Regions from separate parts of the Homo sapiens genome. Here region 2 is linked to region 1. Evidence: promoter capture Hi-C in human tissues and cell types (Jung and others, 2019). All regions are on one chromosome and are shown on one strand. Each heading gives the region's core, a stretch centred on a gene start or on the middle of the fragment in contact. The rest is flanking DNA. Distances are from core to core; before and after follow the strand shown.

What was found. The method cuts DNA at HindIII sites, captures the fragments that hold promoters and counts their contacts. A contact is called where the count stands out against the background at its distance.
Region 2: a fragment that was not itself captured here is called in contact with the fragment with the promoter of NKD2 in region 1 in 1 of the 25 tissues and cell types used here (lymphoblastoid cells).

Annotation. Positions count from the first base shown.
Region 1 is chr5:1,005,600-1,013,425 of GRCh38, forward strand. NKD2 (NKD inhibitor of Wnt signaling pathway 2) reads left to right here and starts at 3,203. Exons shown (of 10, transcript NM_033120.4): 1 at 3,203-3,483; 2 at 3,580-3,615; 3 at 3,882-3,961. The coding sequence starts at 3,459. RefSeq lists enhancers at 1-545, 1,699-2,464, 2,465-3,230. The HindIII fragment of the contact is 40,301 bases long and covers 1-7,826 here.
Region 2 is chr5:954,965-962,790 of GRCh38, forward strand. LOC124900931 (a long non-coding RNA gene) reads right to left here. Exons shown (of 2, transcript XR_007058676.1): 2 at 7,354-7,762. Among named protein-coding and RNA genes, the nearest start is that of LINC02982, 38 kb to the right of the region's middle. RefSeq lists an enhancer at 5,712-5,951. The HindIII fragment of the contact is 8,141 bases long and covers 1-7,596 here.

The DNA of each region.
Region 1 (7,826 bases), core at 1,953-4,452:
GGGCCCCTGGAAGAGGCAGGCAGGGGGCTGCCCCACAGACGGGCCCAGGAGAGGACACGCCGGGCTGGCATCACGTGAGGAGAGCGTCCAGCAAACCACACTGGTCCCGAGGCCTCCACGAAAAGTAGATGGGCATCTCGCGGCAGCCACCACTGAGGCAGCACCGGGAAAGCATGGTGGGTGCCCACTGGCCCCGCAGAGGGCAAAGGCATGCACACGCCAGAAGGGAACGTCAAGGGGAGCAAAGAGAACCCCTTCCTCCTGGAATGGCTGAGGGGACCAGGCCGCTCTGTGATGCAGACATCTCAAGGGGCTCTCCCTTGCACTACCCCATGTGGACTTTAACTCCCAATTTGGAAAGTAATGATGTCATCTTCTGTGGTCTCAGGGTCCTAGTGAGTGTGTGAGGATAATAGTGTTACATGTTATGCAAAGGGATTGTGAACTGGCATGGGGGTCAGGTTTGCAGGGCCTGGAGCTGGTGACTCCAGCTCTAGAACAACCCCAGGCCGGCTCTGCCCTACCCAGGAGAGATGGTCATAGGGGAAAGAGTCCAGTGGGCATTGGAGGCGTAGGGGCCACTTAGGGTTGCCCTTTGAGCTGACAGTGGGGTACAGATTCAGCTCTGCAGTGCCCCTAACCCCCACTGCGGATCCACCCGGGGGAATGCCCTGAGGACACGCGAGGTGAGGGTCAGGCGTGTCCTGCTGGGTGGGAACTCCGGACCCTCTGGGAAGGAATGGGTGAATCGGCTGCTCTCACTCTCCAGCTCCCACTCAGAGGAGCCCTGGGGGATCCCATTCCTCTACCTCAGAGGACTCCCAGGACACTGTCTGAGCCCAGTGGGAGGAGGACACACAGCCCTGATCTGCCAGTCAGTGGGGCTGAGGGTCAAGCTGTGCGCCTTGTGTGCTGGCGGCGTCCCGCCTGGGATGGATGGAGATGGTCTGTACTTTCATGGGTGAATTGTAGGGCCCCTGAATTGTATGTATCTCAATAAAGCTGCTAAAGAATAAATGTAAAACCTTTGCCTAGTAACTCAGGTTCACTGGAGTGCATGGGGAGTTTCTGCTGTTTGGACTCTGCATGTGCCTAGTTCCAAGTGACAAGGTGGGTGCGAGGGCACGGCAGCCAGTGCAGGCCCAGCCTCATGGGCTCCTCCAGCTTGGGCACCCTGTAGGGTGTGGGGTTGGTGCCATGGCCCGCCCCCACCCCCCACCTCCACCTGTCCTCCCAGGACACTTCCTCCCCCAGACCTCCTGACATCTGCATTTAGCAAGGACCAGAGCTCAGTCAGCAGAGGAGTGAAACACAATGGCCCTTCCCCACCTGGCTGGGGCACCTCAGCCAACCTCCCCCAGTGGGACCTTCTCGGGGTCTTGGGAGGAGGGCCCATGCATGTGTGAGGCAAGGCTCCCAGCCACACAGGGGACACGAGCCCACCAGCAGATCTTCACCCAGGGTGGCTCATCGGTCCTCATGTAAGGGCAGGATTTAGAGGCACGGGAAGGGCTGCAATCCTCAGGCTGTGCTACTTTGCATAACATGTAACACTATCATCCTCACACACTCACTAGGACCCTGAGACCACAGAAGATGGCATTGTTACCTTCCAAATTGGGAGTTAAAGTCCACTTGGGGTAGCGCAAGGGAGAGAGGAGGGGCCGAAAGAGCCTGGGAGGGTGGCCCTGGCCCTGAATCTGGACGCCTGGACGCTATACACAAGGGCGCTCTGAGCCCATCGCAGGCACGGCCTGGCCGGGTGCAACCCTGCTACCAGGTGCCAGAGCTGTCTGCCTGCAGGAAGTGGCCCCTCCACTAGGGTTCTTCAGAGGATGGTGGGAATGGCTCGCAGGCAAGACTACTCCCAGGAGGGTCCGTGTGCCCTTGTTCATGTGCTCGCCCACAGCTCATGTATCTGCGGACAGCCAGCAGGGGAGGCTGCTGGGGTGGGGGGCGGGCCTCTGGTTTAACTTTCCGTTTTGCCACTGAGCAGCCTAGGCCTCTGTAAAATCGTGTGATGGCGGCATCTGCCCCGAGGATGGTCTGAGAATGGGAGGCAGTAATTGGAGTGAAAGGGCTTGGCTGGACGTCAGCTCCAGAGGTGCAAGTCAGCACTGGGCAGCCGCGGAGCTGCGCTGCTCAGCTGTGAGACAGGGCTCCAGCCAGGGGAGTGGGAACAGAGAGACCGGGTGGGACCTGGGCCAGCTTAGCGGAGGCCTGGCAGGGCCGGAGCTGGGCAGGTGAGGGGTCCCGCACCGCCAGCCTCGGAGCTCCAACTCCAGGGACGGGAGCTGCCCTGGCAGAAGGTGGGGTCACCCACTGAGGTTGGAGACGTGGGCGTGGCAACAGCCCGTGGGGAAAATGCTGAGCTAGCTCTTGAAAGGCTGGGGAGATACAATGTATCAATGCAACAGGGCGTGGCAGGGAGGAGAGTCATGGGTAGGGAAGGGAGAAATGTCCCAGAAACAGGAGCAAGTTAGGGTTCCAGGAGGAAGTGAGGGAAGAAGGTTCCTCTGAAGGTAAATAAGGAAGAGAGCCCTGAGGTACCCAGCAGGGTAGGAGGCAGAGAGGGGGTCCAGTGAAGGGTACTGAGGGACGGGTCTCCAGAGCCAGCTGGAGGAGCTTGAGATGAGGCCAGGGAGGTAGCAGCTGAAGCCACTGAGTTGGACACGTGGAGGAGGCAGCGCAGGTGGCCAGGCTTGGGGCTCCTGGGAGGCTCCAACACCCTCAAGGCACAGGTCGGAGGAGACCCTGCTCAAACCAAGGACAAAGTGAGGGGGTGCAGGGCCCTTCCAGCCGGGGCCGGGGGGGGCCAACGCTGGTTCTTCATCAATTTGGAGCGCCAGGAGAGGGCGGGGATCTAGTCCTGCCGGATACCACCCCCCTTTGGGCTGCCCACACCCCCACCCCCTCTCCAGCAGCCAAGGGAGGCGGGTCCTCCCTTTCAAAGGGAGGTGCCCTCAGGCTCCTCTGGAATTGGGGATCCCTTGACCCAGGACGGCCTGGTGAGGGGTCGGAGCTGACTCCCGCCAGGCTCCGCTGCAGCACCTGACCGCCCCCACAGGTGGCCGGGCCGGGTCCTCATCGCTGGTGGGGCTCCAGGCTGGGAACGGGGGTCGAGGCCGATGCGCTGCGGGCAGCGGCCGCCGGGGGCGCTGCGGGGGCCGCGGTTAAAGCCCCGGCGCGGGCGCACGCGCTCAGAGGGAGCCGGGCCGCCGTCGCTGCCGCCGCTGTCCCCGCGCCCTGCGCCCGGTGGCCCCCCACCTCCGCCCCGCGGCCGTACCTGGCGCCCCCTGGCTCCCCCGGCCCCCGCGCGGCGTGGAGCCATCTTCCCTCACCTCCTACCGGCACCCTAGCTTGCTCCCGGCCCATGCGGCCCCCGCGGGCTCCCGGCCCCGGCTTCAGAACTCAGCCCTGCACCTGAGCGCGGGGCCCGGCGGGGCGTGGCGGCGGCGATGGGGAAACTGCAGTCGAAGCACGGTGAGCCGCGGGCCGGTAGGGCGGGAGGGCGGGCGGGCGGGCGTGGGGCCGCCTCTCACTGTCGTTTTCCTCTCCCCGCGTCCCGCCGTGCCGCAGCCGCCGCCGCCCGCAAGCGGAGAGAGAGCCCGGAAGGTGAGCGGGCGAGCCGACGGGCGGGGCGGGGGGCGGCGACCCGGCCCGGGACCCTCAGAGCTAGGAGCCCGCGCGCGTCCTGCCCTGGAGCCAGCAGTGGGGGGACGGGGCCGCGGGTCTCCAGGAGCGCGCGGGACCCCCACGCCTGCCCCTGCGCGGTCTCCAGGCGATGGGGACACAGCGAAGGCGCAGCGCCCGCGGGGCTCACGGCGCGTCTCTTTCCCTCCTCGGTGCGGGTTTCCCGCGCGTCCGCCCCCGGACCGCAGGGGACAGCTTCGTGGCGTCCGCGTACGCGAGCGGCCGCAAAGGCGCGGAGGAAGCGGAGCGGCGCGCGCGGGACAAGCAGGTAGGCGGCGGGGCGGAGGCTGGGGTCGCGCTGCGCACCCGCCCGGGGGCGGGGAGCGGTGTCAGAGCTGTTCCTGGTGCCCGCCCGCGGACAGGCGAGACGTGGGCCGCCATGGCCGCACGAGTGACCGGGGGCCAGGAGAGCCAGTCTCTCCCCAGCCTCCACGACGTCTGGGGCTCCCGTGGGGCGAGCCCTTGCTAGTGTCCCATGCTGAGTGGCGGGTAGGGGAATCGGAATTCCTTGTCCTAGGCTGGGAGCCGTGTGGGGGCTCCATGTTTCGGGCTGGAGGAGCTGGGCGAGTGGGAGGGGCTGGACCTAGACGTCCCGGGCTGGGGGTCCCGGGGAGCGGGAATGCAGTACCCCGGCTGGATGAGCTGGAGGAGTTGGAGGAGGGGTGGGAGCTACAGACCTGGGGCATCACTGGTCATAGCCTCAGTGCTCAATCAGCAAACATGGCCAGAGTCAGAGGCCTCGGTGCCTCCCATCTCTGGGAGGGGTGACCACAGGCCTGCTAGAGGCTCAGGAGACAGAGGGACATCTGCACAGCTGTGGCAAGGCTGCAGAGACTGCAAGGCTGGCTCAAGAGCCAGGCGGCCCTGAGGGTGGGTGAGGAAGGTGCTATGTCCAGGAGCAGAGAACTGTCCAGGTCTGGGGCCCTGGAAGGGCCTGGGGTAAATTAGACCTGCATGTTTGCTGAGCGTGAGAAAGCTAACATTTGATGGTCATCAGTGTCAGTGTGAACTGTATCGGTGCAGACAGCCCCACCAGGTGGCCAGGCCCACACTTGCCCCTTGCTTCCTCCCCCACTGTCCCCAGAGGTCCCCAGACACAGAACATGCCGGGTCACGCAATCAGTTTCCTTTTTGGAAAGACATTGTTCTGGCAGTTGATTAAAAAAAGTTCTGGGTGTGTTTGGAGACATTTTCTGCAGCTCTGTCTTGAGAAGGGGCTTAGGTCTGCTTGGAAATTAACATGCAATAGAGTTAGGATTGGTGCTTCCTGAGAGTGACCATCTAACGCCTGTGATGGTGGGAAGCACGCTGTAAGGTACAGTAAGTTGGGTGGTCCTGTGAGCCTCTATCCGGGACAGGGAGACCAGGGTGAGGTCATCCAGGGAGCTGTCCCCGCCCCAATCTGGCTCTCTCTGCCAGTTACATTTGCACAGGGGCTTGCTGGTGAGTGGATGGTGCCACTTAGCAGCCAGGTGCTCCTGGTATGATTAGTCAGTGATGTGAGCACCTGGGGTGGGCGGGCGTTCACCTCTCTCGTGGTCAGGGCTTTGGCCGGCCCCTGTCCATTGGCCCACTGGCCTGGAGCCTTCTCCCTGGGAGGCGCTGCACCATGAACCTTAAAATCCCTGAGCCAGCGCCCTCACCATGAAGTGCAGCTCCCAGGGCCATGGGGCAAGGCCAGTGCGCTCTGGAAAATGCAGGTGCTCCTCATGTGACTACGATGTCAGCGTGAGGGCTGCTCGTGGGCGTTTAGACCTGCCACTCTACACTGGGACATTTTCTTTAGAGAATAGCTTGGGAATTGGGGCTTGCTTGGATTGTTACCTTCTAATTTTGCCATCATTTCATGAAAGAAAACTCCTTTCTAAGTTAAAATGAACAAACTCAGAATCAAAGGCTGTCCTGTGAATTAAATACATTTCAGCTTTCAGACAAAAGTGCTGCCTTTCTGTATTTTCCGCCTCTGGCCATGACTCCTCCCACCTGGCATGGAGACCCCAGGGCCCAGGTGCGCCCTCACCTGGCCAAGTGCCCTCCCTGCCACATTGCTGTTCCTCTCACCTGGCAGCTGTTCCCCCTGCGACAGATCCTACTGACGTCCAGGAGAGTCGCAGGCCACCACAGCGAAGTGTCCCTCTGGCTCTCACCTTCTTCTTTTGTGTTGTCCAGAGCCTCGCCCATCGTCCTTGTCCTCCCAGGTGGTATCCACTGAGGAGGGCCAGTCCTGGGTCACCCAGGGCACCCCTTGTGATGCCTGGCTGGGGCCAGCGAGGGGACTCACTCCTTCCCTTCTCCAAAGTCCACCTCCTGGTTCCGTGCGAGGCATCCTGGGTGCCACAGAACGGTGGCAGAGAACCCTGTGGAGATTGGGCGCACTAAGAGCCAAGACCTCCGACCTACCCTCTCTCCCCAGCCCCCAAAATAACACAAATGAGATTGGCTATTATTAATTCCCTGTGAGCAATGCTGGCTCCTGCCTCTGTACGTGTCTGAAAACACCAACAGCAGCACTTTCCCAGACAGGTGTGTCTCTGCACCCCCGACGTGGCTCTCCCTGGCGACTCTGCGGAGCGCCACACTTTGCTTTTGGCGGGACCCGCACGGCTTCATCACCGAGTGTCCCTGAAGGGCTAGGGCCATGGGATCACTGGTGACGGTGCCGTGAAGGTCTGGAGAGTGGATTGTGAGGGATCCGGAGTCCCTGGGGATGTGCGTGGGTGAGGAGTGGTGCCATGGTGGCAGTGCACTTGTGTGGCTGTTTTTCCAAGTGGTAGTGACTGCAGGGAGGATGGCTTCAGGCCTGGGAACAGGCTGCCCCTGCACACTCACCCTCACCATCTGGTCTGCGAGACTAGCTTTAATTTCTACAGCGCTCCCTGAGGCTGGCGGAAAATGGTTCTGAAGACAAGAGTCACTGTTAACTGGAATGTTGTTGTGAATGGAGCACAGGCTTCCATGAAGTAGTGCTGAGGAAGGGTGCGCTGGGGCTAACTCCAGAGGCAGCATTGTAGCGAACACTCGTGACAGACCAGCCAGTGCGTGGAGGAGGCCGTGGCCCTGGCCTGCACGGGGGGCTCTTGCCCACATCTGCAGGAGGCAGCAGGCACGGCTCTGAGTGGCCCGTCTAGGGCAGGTCCCAGCTTACAGGAGGCACTCGCCAGTCCCATCCCCATGCCACGGCCCTTCTGAGTGTGCCAACATGGTACATGTTTCCTGGAAGGGAGCCAGGAGGACCACAGTCGTAAGACCTGCTGGCTCTGTCCAGGGCTGAGCTCCAGGCCAGGGCCCAGGCCTTCACCTGCACTGGCCTCTGGCTTCCAGCAGCAAACTCCATCTGCCCTCAGCATGGCCTTGCTCACGGGAACTGGGCTCAGCCCCACTACATGGCTTGACGCCTTCCGACTGGAACCAGCCACAGTGCCCCAGAGGCTCATATGCCTGCAGCTGGCCTTCCCCCAGAGGCAGGGGTGGGGCTGCCCCTTCCCTGCCCCTTCCCTGCCCCTCCTGGCCACCCAGGAGCCAGCGCTCACCTGTCCTCTGTGGGTCCAGAGAGCTGGATGTGGCAGTGGGATGCCCAGTTCTTGGTCAGTGGGAGCAGTTTCTTGTAGAAGATCCTGGAAAATTCTTCATGGCTTCAAGCACAGTCTGGACGCTACCGCATCAACACAGAGATGCAGGGTGGGGGCAAGATACACATTTGCAGGAGAGACTCGGGCCAGTGCACGTGCGCCCAGAGACAAGGCAGTGTGGACCATACTCTGCTTGGTGCTCGGCCACGTGCCACACAGAAGGAGAGGTTGTGGGTGCCCAGTCCACCCAGCTCTGCATTTGGGGGTGCAAGCCACTCCAAGATGTCCAGGAGAATGGCAGCTTCCAAAGGGAGCAGGGGTGCCTGGGGATGCCTCCAGCACAGACTCTGAGGGCCAACCTTCTGTCTTCTGTGACTCATGTTCCGGGACCCTGTGTCCTCATGGAGCTGAGGCCCATGTGGGGCTTTGTGTCAGAGCCGGCGGCAGCTGCAGTGTGTCATGGCTGCCCTTTGCTTTCTTTTTGGTGCCCTCTGTGTGCCTGGCCCTTGGATACAGGCAGCCGTGTTCCTACCCTGGGATGTGGCCCAGCCATGTGGCGAGGCC
Region 2 (7,826 bases), core at 2,276-4,775, 50 kb before region 1:
AGAGACAGGGTTTCACTGTGTTAGCCAGGATGGTCTTGATCTCCTGACCTCATGATCTGCCCGCCTCGGCTTCCCAAAGTGCTGAGATTACAGGCGTGAGCCACCGTGCCTGGCTGCTACTTTTTATTATATCTAATAATATACATGTAAATCCTTTTAAATTTCTATGTTTATCTCTTGTTTCTTATCTGTGTTATTTTCTTTTCATTTTGTTCATTTTCTCCCTAACTCTTATAACTATACTGCTGTAGTCGTTATCGAGCTCCCTCGACAACCACGTTAATTCCTCAGGAGGGCCTCACCTCTTAACATGTCTGCCTCCACTCTGCACCTCATCTGGAAAATGGCAATTAAGTTTCAACATGAGTTTTGGGAGAGACATTCTAACCACAGCAAATACCATTTGTGAAGAACGTTTCTCTTTTATTCCAGATATTGTTTCATTATCCTCTGTGAGTGTCTCTCTCTCTGTCTTTGTCTCTCTCTGTCTCTGTCTCTCTGTTTTCCTATGTCTCTGTCTCTGCTTCTGTCTGTCTTTCTCTGTCTCTCTGTTTCTCTATGTCTCTCTCTCTGTTTCTCTGTATTTCTCTGTCTCTGTCTGTTTCCCTATGTCTCTGTCTGTTTCTCTCTTTCTGTCTCTCTGTTTCTCTATGTCTTTCTCTCTGTTTCTCTCTGTATTTCTCTGTCTCTGTCTGTTTCCCTATGTCTCTGTCTCTGTTTCTCTCTGTCTTTCTCTCTCTGTTTCTCTATGTCTCTGTTTCTCTCTGTATTTCTCTGTCTGTTTCCCTATGTCTCTGTCTCTGTTTCTCTCTTTCTCTGTTTCTCTATGTCTCTCTCTGTATTTCTCTGTCTGTTTCCCTACGTCTCTGACTTTGCTTCTCTCTGTCTTTGTCTGTCTCTCTGACCCTGTCTCTGTCTCTCAGTCTCTCCCTCCTATGAGTGACAGCCATAGCCTCTCTTAGAATGCTAAATGGAAGCGTTGTTAGAAGGCCTGTCTACTGTGTTCTGGTCTGACGGGGACAGTTTCTCTGTCTCGCCATTTAGTGCCGTACTGTATTTGCTGAAGGTTTTTTGAAGACCCTTTGTCCAGTTAAGGAAATGCCTTTCTATGCTTAGCCTGCTGAGAACCTTTTCATGACTGGCTGTTGAATGTTCCCAGATGCTGTTCTGCATTTGCTAAGGTGGCCACGCGGTTTTCTTCCTGACTTTGCTAGCGTGAGCTCCAGGAAGGCGGGCCTGTCCGTGTTCACCGCTGAGCCCGCCCGGAAGGCACCGTTTACGAAGCACCTTGCACATCCGGCTCCATTCTGCACCCTGGCTTCCTCATCTGGAAAATGGGTCCATCTCGGTGATCTGGGCTGGAGACCTCGGACTCAGGGCAGTGCCAGCTGGGCCCCAAGTGGAGGTGACAGCTGGGGACCAGAAGGGGCTACCGCATAGCCGGGGAGTGAGGGGCTGGTGCTGGCCAAGGCGCCTCTGACTGACCTCTGCTCTCTCGCCAAGTACCCAGGAGATGTCCCAGAAAGAACGGCAGCTCCACTGAGATCTTGAACCTCAGAGACCCCCTCCCAGGGCTCTGACACGCGGCGTCCACGGGGTCTTCAACTCACCCGTGAAGACCCGGCACCCTCTGAGGGCAACTCCACCCCACCTTGCAGTCCCACAGCAGCTGAAGCCCAGCAGGGCTGGGGGCTGAAGACCCTCCAGCATGGCTCAGGACCTCGGAAGGGCCAGGGGAGGCGGGCTTCCTGCAGGAGATGCCGGCACTCCCCAAAGGACTCTTCAGGGTTGGGGGCGGACGTGAAGGGAGGAAACCCACTCACCCTACTTGAATTCTGAACACGCACATGGATCTCGGTTCCACCTCCCTTTACAGTCTATTTAGGTCCTGCTCCACCTTGGAGTTCTGATGCCCATGAGTGGGGCAGAAATTCCCAGCATCATGGCAGGGAAAGTCGGTGGGGCTCAAAGCTCCAGCCAAGAATGGCTCTGCATCTGCCTGGTTCTCTCTTCAATCGGGGCTTCTGTGGCCAGGACACTGGCATTTCATAAATAATTACACATTCCTTAAACTCTCACAAAGCCAAGAGGAAACAAAACCGCAATGCTGAGATTCCTGGAATGTTTTCCAGTTATCTGGGCCAAGCAGAGGCCCAGTGGGGGCTGTGCAGCGCGCTTAGCCTGGGACTGGGCCGTAGTCCCCTTTCTTGTGGCATTTTAGCTAAAAGACCTGAAAGGAAAATGAAAGGCGCTTTATGACTGTGGTGTTCGTCAGGGTCCCCAGACAATGGGGGAAGCCCATCCAATCCTCAGAGCTGGCTCGGGGCAGCCCCATGGATCTGTGCCCTGGGACTGACCTCGGGGCCAAGAGAACCCTCAAAGGCTGAGGTCACCCCGCCAGGGTCGGTTTAGGTGTGGCGCCTCCTCTGGACGCCCCTGGGATTGCCTGCGCGCCCGGCCCGGAGCTCCTGTTCCAAGCAGGGAGCATCCCTGGACCGTGCCCTCGTTCCTTTGAGGTTTTCTGTGGCACGCACCACAGTTTAATGCGACTCACCCCAGCCATGCTGGGGCTGGTTTCCTGTTACAAACACAGGCTTAGTTTTAAGATCAAACAACTGTTTGGGTTGTGGTCTGACCTCGCAGGGGATGTGGCTCAGGGCCTGGTGCAGCCTGGCCAAGGGGTGACGTCCGGTCATGCTGGCTTCATTCCCTGAGCACCGCAGCCTTCTCTGTGTCCCCTGTCCCTGCCCACCTGGCCTCCTCAAGCGTCTGTCCAGCCCAGCCCAGGTTGCGCTCAGCAGTGGCTCACTGGCCCCTCTGCCATCCTTGCCACCGATGCCCAGCCTTATTTATTTGGGGTATTTCTGGGCCATTCCACCCACTCCTCTTGAGGGCACCCAGCGTGTCCCTTGCCCTGTGTGGTCGGCGCCCATCTCTGAAGTGCGGGAAGCAGGAAGCAAGGCCTGCTGATGGGAAGGACCCACGGCTCTGGCTAGAATGGCTTTGGCCCTAAGCCAAAGCTGAGGGTGTGGGGAAGCAGGAAATCCAGTGTGGAAGCCATTTTGGACGTCAAATCAGTGGGTCAGGGACTGCTCACACAGGGTCGTCTTCTTGTGACTTTTCAGGGACTTGCTTTTACCCCCCTTCTCTGGTGAGCTTTCTAGACAAGGCTGCGACATGACATTCTCATTCTGTTTGGAGCAGGATGAAGGGTTCGTGCGTAACACTATGAGGCGTGGACGGGGCTGAGAACTGGCGCATGGCTGCCACCTGCTGTGGTGGTGACCACCGGGAGTCTCCCTCGCAGGCTGTCTGGCTCAAAAGGTGACAAAGTTCCAGCCACGGGGCCCCTGCTCAGCCCTGAGGACACCCACACTGGCACAGGGGACACTGCGGCAGTCAGGGAAGGGCACCTCCCCACGCTGGCACAGGGTCTCAGCACAGGGGACACTGCGGCACTCAGGGAAGGGCACCTCCCCACGCTGGCACAGGGTCTCAGCACAGGGGACACTGCGGCACTCAGGGAAGGGCACCTCCCCACGCTGGCACAGGGTCTCAGCGAGAGACTACGGCATTTGGGGAAGGGCCATTTTGTCATTGACTGGAACTTTCTCAAGAAAGCATTTTCCACTTGCGTTTCCATGGAGGTCGGCTTTGCTGGAAACCACAGGACCCTGCCCTCCACCAGACACACAGTGTGCAGAGGCGTGTACCCGAAAAGCAAAGTGCGGCCTCACACGGTTCTTTAATCTGGAGCCGGACTCCTGGGAAACAAACCAAACAGACGCAGGTACGTGCTCAGCTCTGCCGTTGCGGTTTGGTTCAGGACTAGGGCCGTGCAGATGCCTGGCAACAGCCGTGCCTGGGGGAGGATGTGGCGCTGGGAGCCCGCAGGCCGGGAGCAGGCGCCGGGGGAGCTTCGGCGGTTCTGGAGGGACTGGGTGTTCCCGCCAAGGCGTTGCTGGCCAGGGGCACAAAAAACAGCGCGGATGGGAAACGGAGCAGCCGCACTCTGTCCGATGAGTCCACACGTGGGCGGCTGCGTTCAGTGCTCCCTGGCACGGGGACCCCAAGCCGTAAGCCGGACACCACGTTCCCAAAGCCAGGAGGGTCATGACATGTGCGTGCGGTGTCCAAAGGCCAAACCAAGGTTGCGGTCCCTGCCAAGTAGGCAGTGATTCACACCTGGGGAAGCGATGTGATTGGCCTTCTTCTATTCAAATAATGTAAGCATAAGGGACAGAGAACGCCAGTGCTTGCGCTTGACAAATCTCTGGGCATTTTGCCAAGGGCCGAGCTCGGCTCCCCACCCCCAGCCCTGCCCCCCACGTGACAAGGCCCCATCGGCCCCCAAGTCCATCTGAGCTCACACTCACGCAACAGGCAAGCCTCCTTCCAAACGAGTACCCTTTCCAAAGCCCAAGTGGCCACTCCCCCACCATGGGGCTGGGACAGAGATGACCGTAGACCTCAAGCCGCTATGGGGACTTGGGTCACAAGGTGCCGCAATGCCCGGGTGCCCCCTGTGCCTCAGTTTCCCCATGTGGGAAATGACTCCATATTGGCAATGTGAGGCATCGAATATCTGAGACTTGGGCAGCGTCTCGTTGCCAAGTCAGGGCACTGCCAGCCGGGCCCAAATTCAAGGCGACGGCCGAGGCTTGAGGCACCACGGCCCCAGTGGTCAGCGGGGGGTCAGCGGGGGGTCAGCGGGGCAGTCAGCGGGGCCGCCATAAGATGGTGGGGCCGGTGGGGGGTTTCAGAGGCAGCTCTTCCCCTCACACTCCGATGCCGCGGAGAGAGCCCAGGGCTGCAGGTGGGGAAGGGCGTGCCTGCGTCTCCGATGGAGGTGACCTCTGGGGCTCTCCTGCTTGCTGCCCAGGTCGGACGTCCCTCTGCTGGCCCATCTCCTGCGCCACACCCACCATTCCCTTCTCACCCCCTGAAGCTCCCTCGTCCTCACAAAAGCAGCAGGGCCACTTATGCGCCGTCCTGTTTTTCTGGACACCATGACCAGGATGGGACAGGACTCGTGAACCCACACGTGAGATCACACTAAGATCCTAAAGGCTTTGCGCTTCTCCAGAGCGGCTGCTGTCTCATGCACACCCGGCCTGGTGTGCCCGCCCCACCCAGTGTGCCCATCCTGCCCAGTGAGTGTCCCCCCCGTGTGCCTGCCCTGCGTGGTGAGGGCCCCCCTCCCAGTGAGTGTCCCCCGCCCGGTGTGCCTGCCCTGCCCGGTGTGCCTGCCCTCCCGGTGTGCCCTCCCACTGGGTGTGTGCCCGCCTGGTGTGCCCTCCCCACCCCACCCCACCTGGTATGAGCGCCCAGGTCAGCCGGGCTGCAGGATTCTCAGGGAGTCCAGGCAGCCGCCCCAGCCCCTGGCAACCCCTTCTCAGCAGGCTGGACCCAGAGCCTCACAGGGGCGTCCCCAGCACTTCCTGCCCCTGGGGTTCCTCTTCCCTGATTCACCTGAACCCAGACCGCACGTGGCAGACACGTTCCTGCCCAGACCCGGACGCCTCCATCTGCTTGGACCACTGGCTTCCCTCACGCTTTGACCGTCAGAACAGACAGGTGGTTTCTTTTAAACCTGGGCCACCCCGTTTTGCCCTGTAAATGCTGTTATTTTTAAAGCAACTGAATAATGTGATTTTCCTGCTTTGCTTCACGCCAGCCCTGGGCTGCGACTCTGCTGCTGCCTGCCCTTGCCCTGCCACTCCTGCAGAGGCCTCCTCCCCACCCACAACTCACAGTGGCCACATGGGCTGGGCTTCTCACCTCGGCCACCTCCTCCCATGTCACCCATGTGATGATGACGGAGGGCCCAGGGGTGCCAGGACTCAGAGCCGGAGCCTCTGCCCTAGTGCCTGGCTCTGCGTGGGAGGTGGGGTGGCCAAGCTTCAGCTGTCTTCTCAGTGGGCCTTTGACACCACTTTGTATCTTCCTATTAAAAATGTGTGCAATGCTGTAATGGAGGGGGGCCTTTCCGTCACCTTGGTGCCAGCACACACTCCACCCTCCAGGGAGGCCACAGGATCTGGTGAGGACAAGGCGCCCTCCACGGCAGCACAGCTGCCACAGCTTCCAGGGAGATCCCTGGGGGCCCACCGTGGGACCACTTGCCAAGCTGCTCCCCCTTCTCCGTCTCTTTCCTGACCTGCTTCGTCCTCTGGAACCCAGCCAGGCTGCTCTCCTCAGCAGCCTTCACACACGGGCGTGGCCATGAGGCCACTGTCCTTCCAGAGAATCCAGGGGACGGGAGGTGAGCCACTCCCGACGGGCGAAAGAGTCTTCCTGCGTGTCCCTCTGGGACCTGTGGGCCAGCTGGTGGGGAGACAACAGCCCCAGAGACCGTGAAGCCTCTGCCACGGCGGGTCTGCGTGAAGGATGTCCTTCCTGGTGGTCCACACTGCCGCAGAAAAATGACCCCCAAACTCAACGGGGTTCTGAAGGGCTTGGCTGGGTGGGTCTGGCTCAGCTGAGCAGCTGTCCCAGGCCATGGCTCTGAAGCCTCCACAGGGCTGGAGGGGCAGGTCCAAGCTCACCCCCAGTGCTGGCAGGTCGCGGCTCCTCGTGGCTGTGGGCCGGACGTCTCCTCACCATGAGGGCCTCTCCACGCAGGGCCCCGCACGCAGTGGCTGGCTTCCTTCAGGACGAGTGACCCAAGGCAGACAGAGTGACCCAGAGGGAAGCCACAGGGTCCTTCAGGCCCTGGACTCAGGAGTGGCATCCACTTGTGCTCTGGTCACATGGACACACCTGGCCCGGCATGGGAGGACGACACACAGCTTTGAGTACCTCCTTGTCTCTGGGCCGTCCCGGGCCCTCAGGCCCCAGAGATTCTGTGATTCTCCCAGCAAAATGCAGCCACTCCTCCCAAGGCCCCCAGAGTCTGCTGCCGTGTGAGGGCTCTATTGGCCCCAGGAGACTTTTCGAGGGTCCTGCACAGCTGCTGGCAGGCTTTGGTCCTTGCGGGCTGTTGTCTGGAGTCCCGTGCACCTCGGGAGATCGCTCTGTTCTCGCGTCGCCTGAGTTCCCACGGCATGGCTGCTGGCTTCACCCAAGCCCGTGACCCAGGAGACAGAGCAACCAGGAGGGAGACCTGGCATGTCCAGCCCAGTTTCGGAAGTGACCCATCTGCACTCTGCCGCATGCTGTCGGCCGCACAGACTCACCTGGGACTACGTGGAAGAAACCGCAAGGGCGTGAGTGCCAGGAAGCCAGGCTCACCAGGCAGAGCCGTTGCATGAGCAGGACACAAACCTCCGTTGTGTCAGGATCTTTCCATCCCAGGGACCACTTCTTGCCGCAGATTAGCCCTTCCCACAGACACAGAGACTGGAACCTTCATGCAGGGTGTGGCCAAAATATATTTCTACAGCATAGTTACACTGGGGAGGAAACAGACAGGGCAGGTGGAGACTGGGGGCCCTGCCAGGGGCCAGGGTCTGCGGGAATGAGGGGGCAGACCACCCCCACCGAGCCCAGATGCCAGGGAAGGAGCCTGGCCAGAAAGATCCAGAAGGACTCAGTGTCTGGCGGCCCTCGCTGCTCCCCATTCTTTGAGGCCGTTGTTCCCAGATGGGATGTCGGATGCGTCTCTGGCCCGGGCCCCTGGTGAAATGTGATGGAGGGGTGTGGATGGAGCGTGGTGGACACAGCAAGAGCCTGGCCAGGCATCCCTGGGGCAGGACAGCATCAGCCGGGGAGCGGGGTCTAGCCCCAGCCGCCTGGCACAGAGTGGCGCCCAATTCTAGAGCTTGAATGAAAGAGGGAATTCAGGAAGACGCTTACACCAGCCAGGCCCCGGGGCACTCAGGACG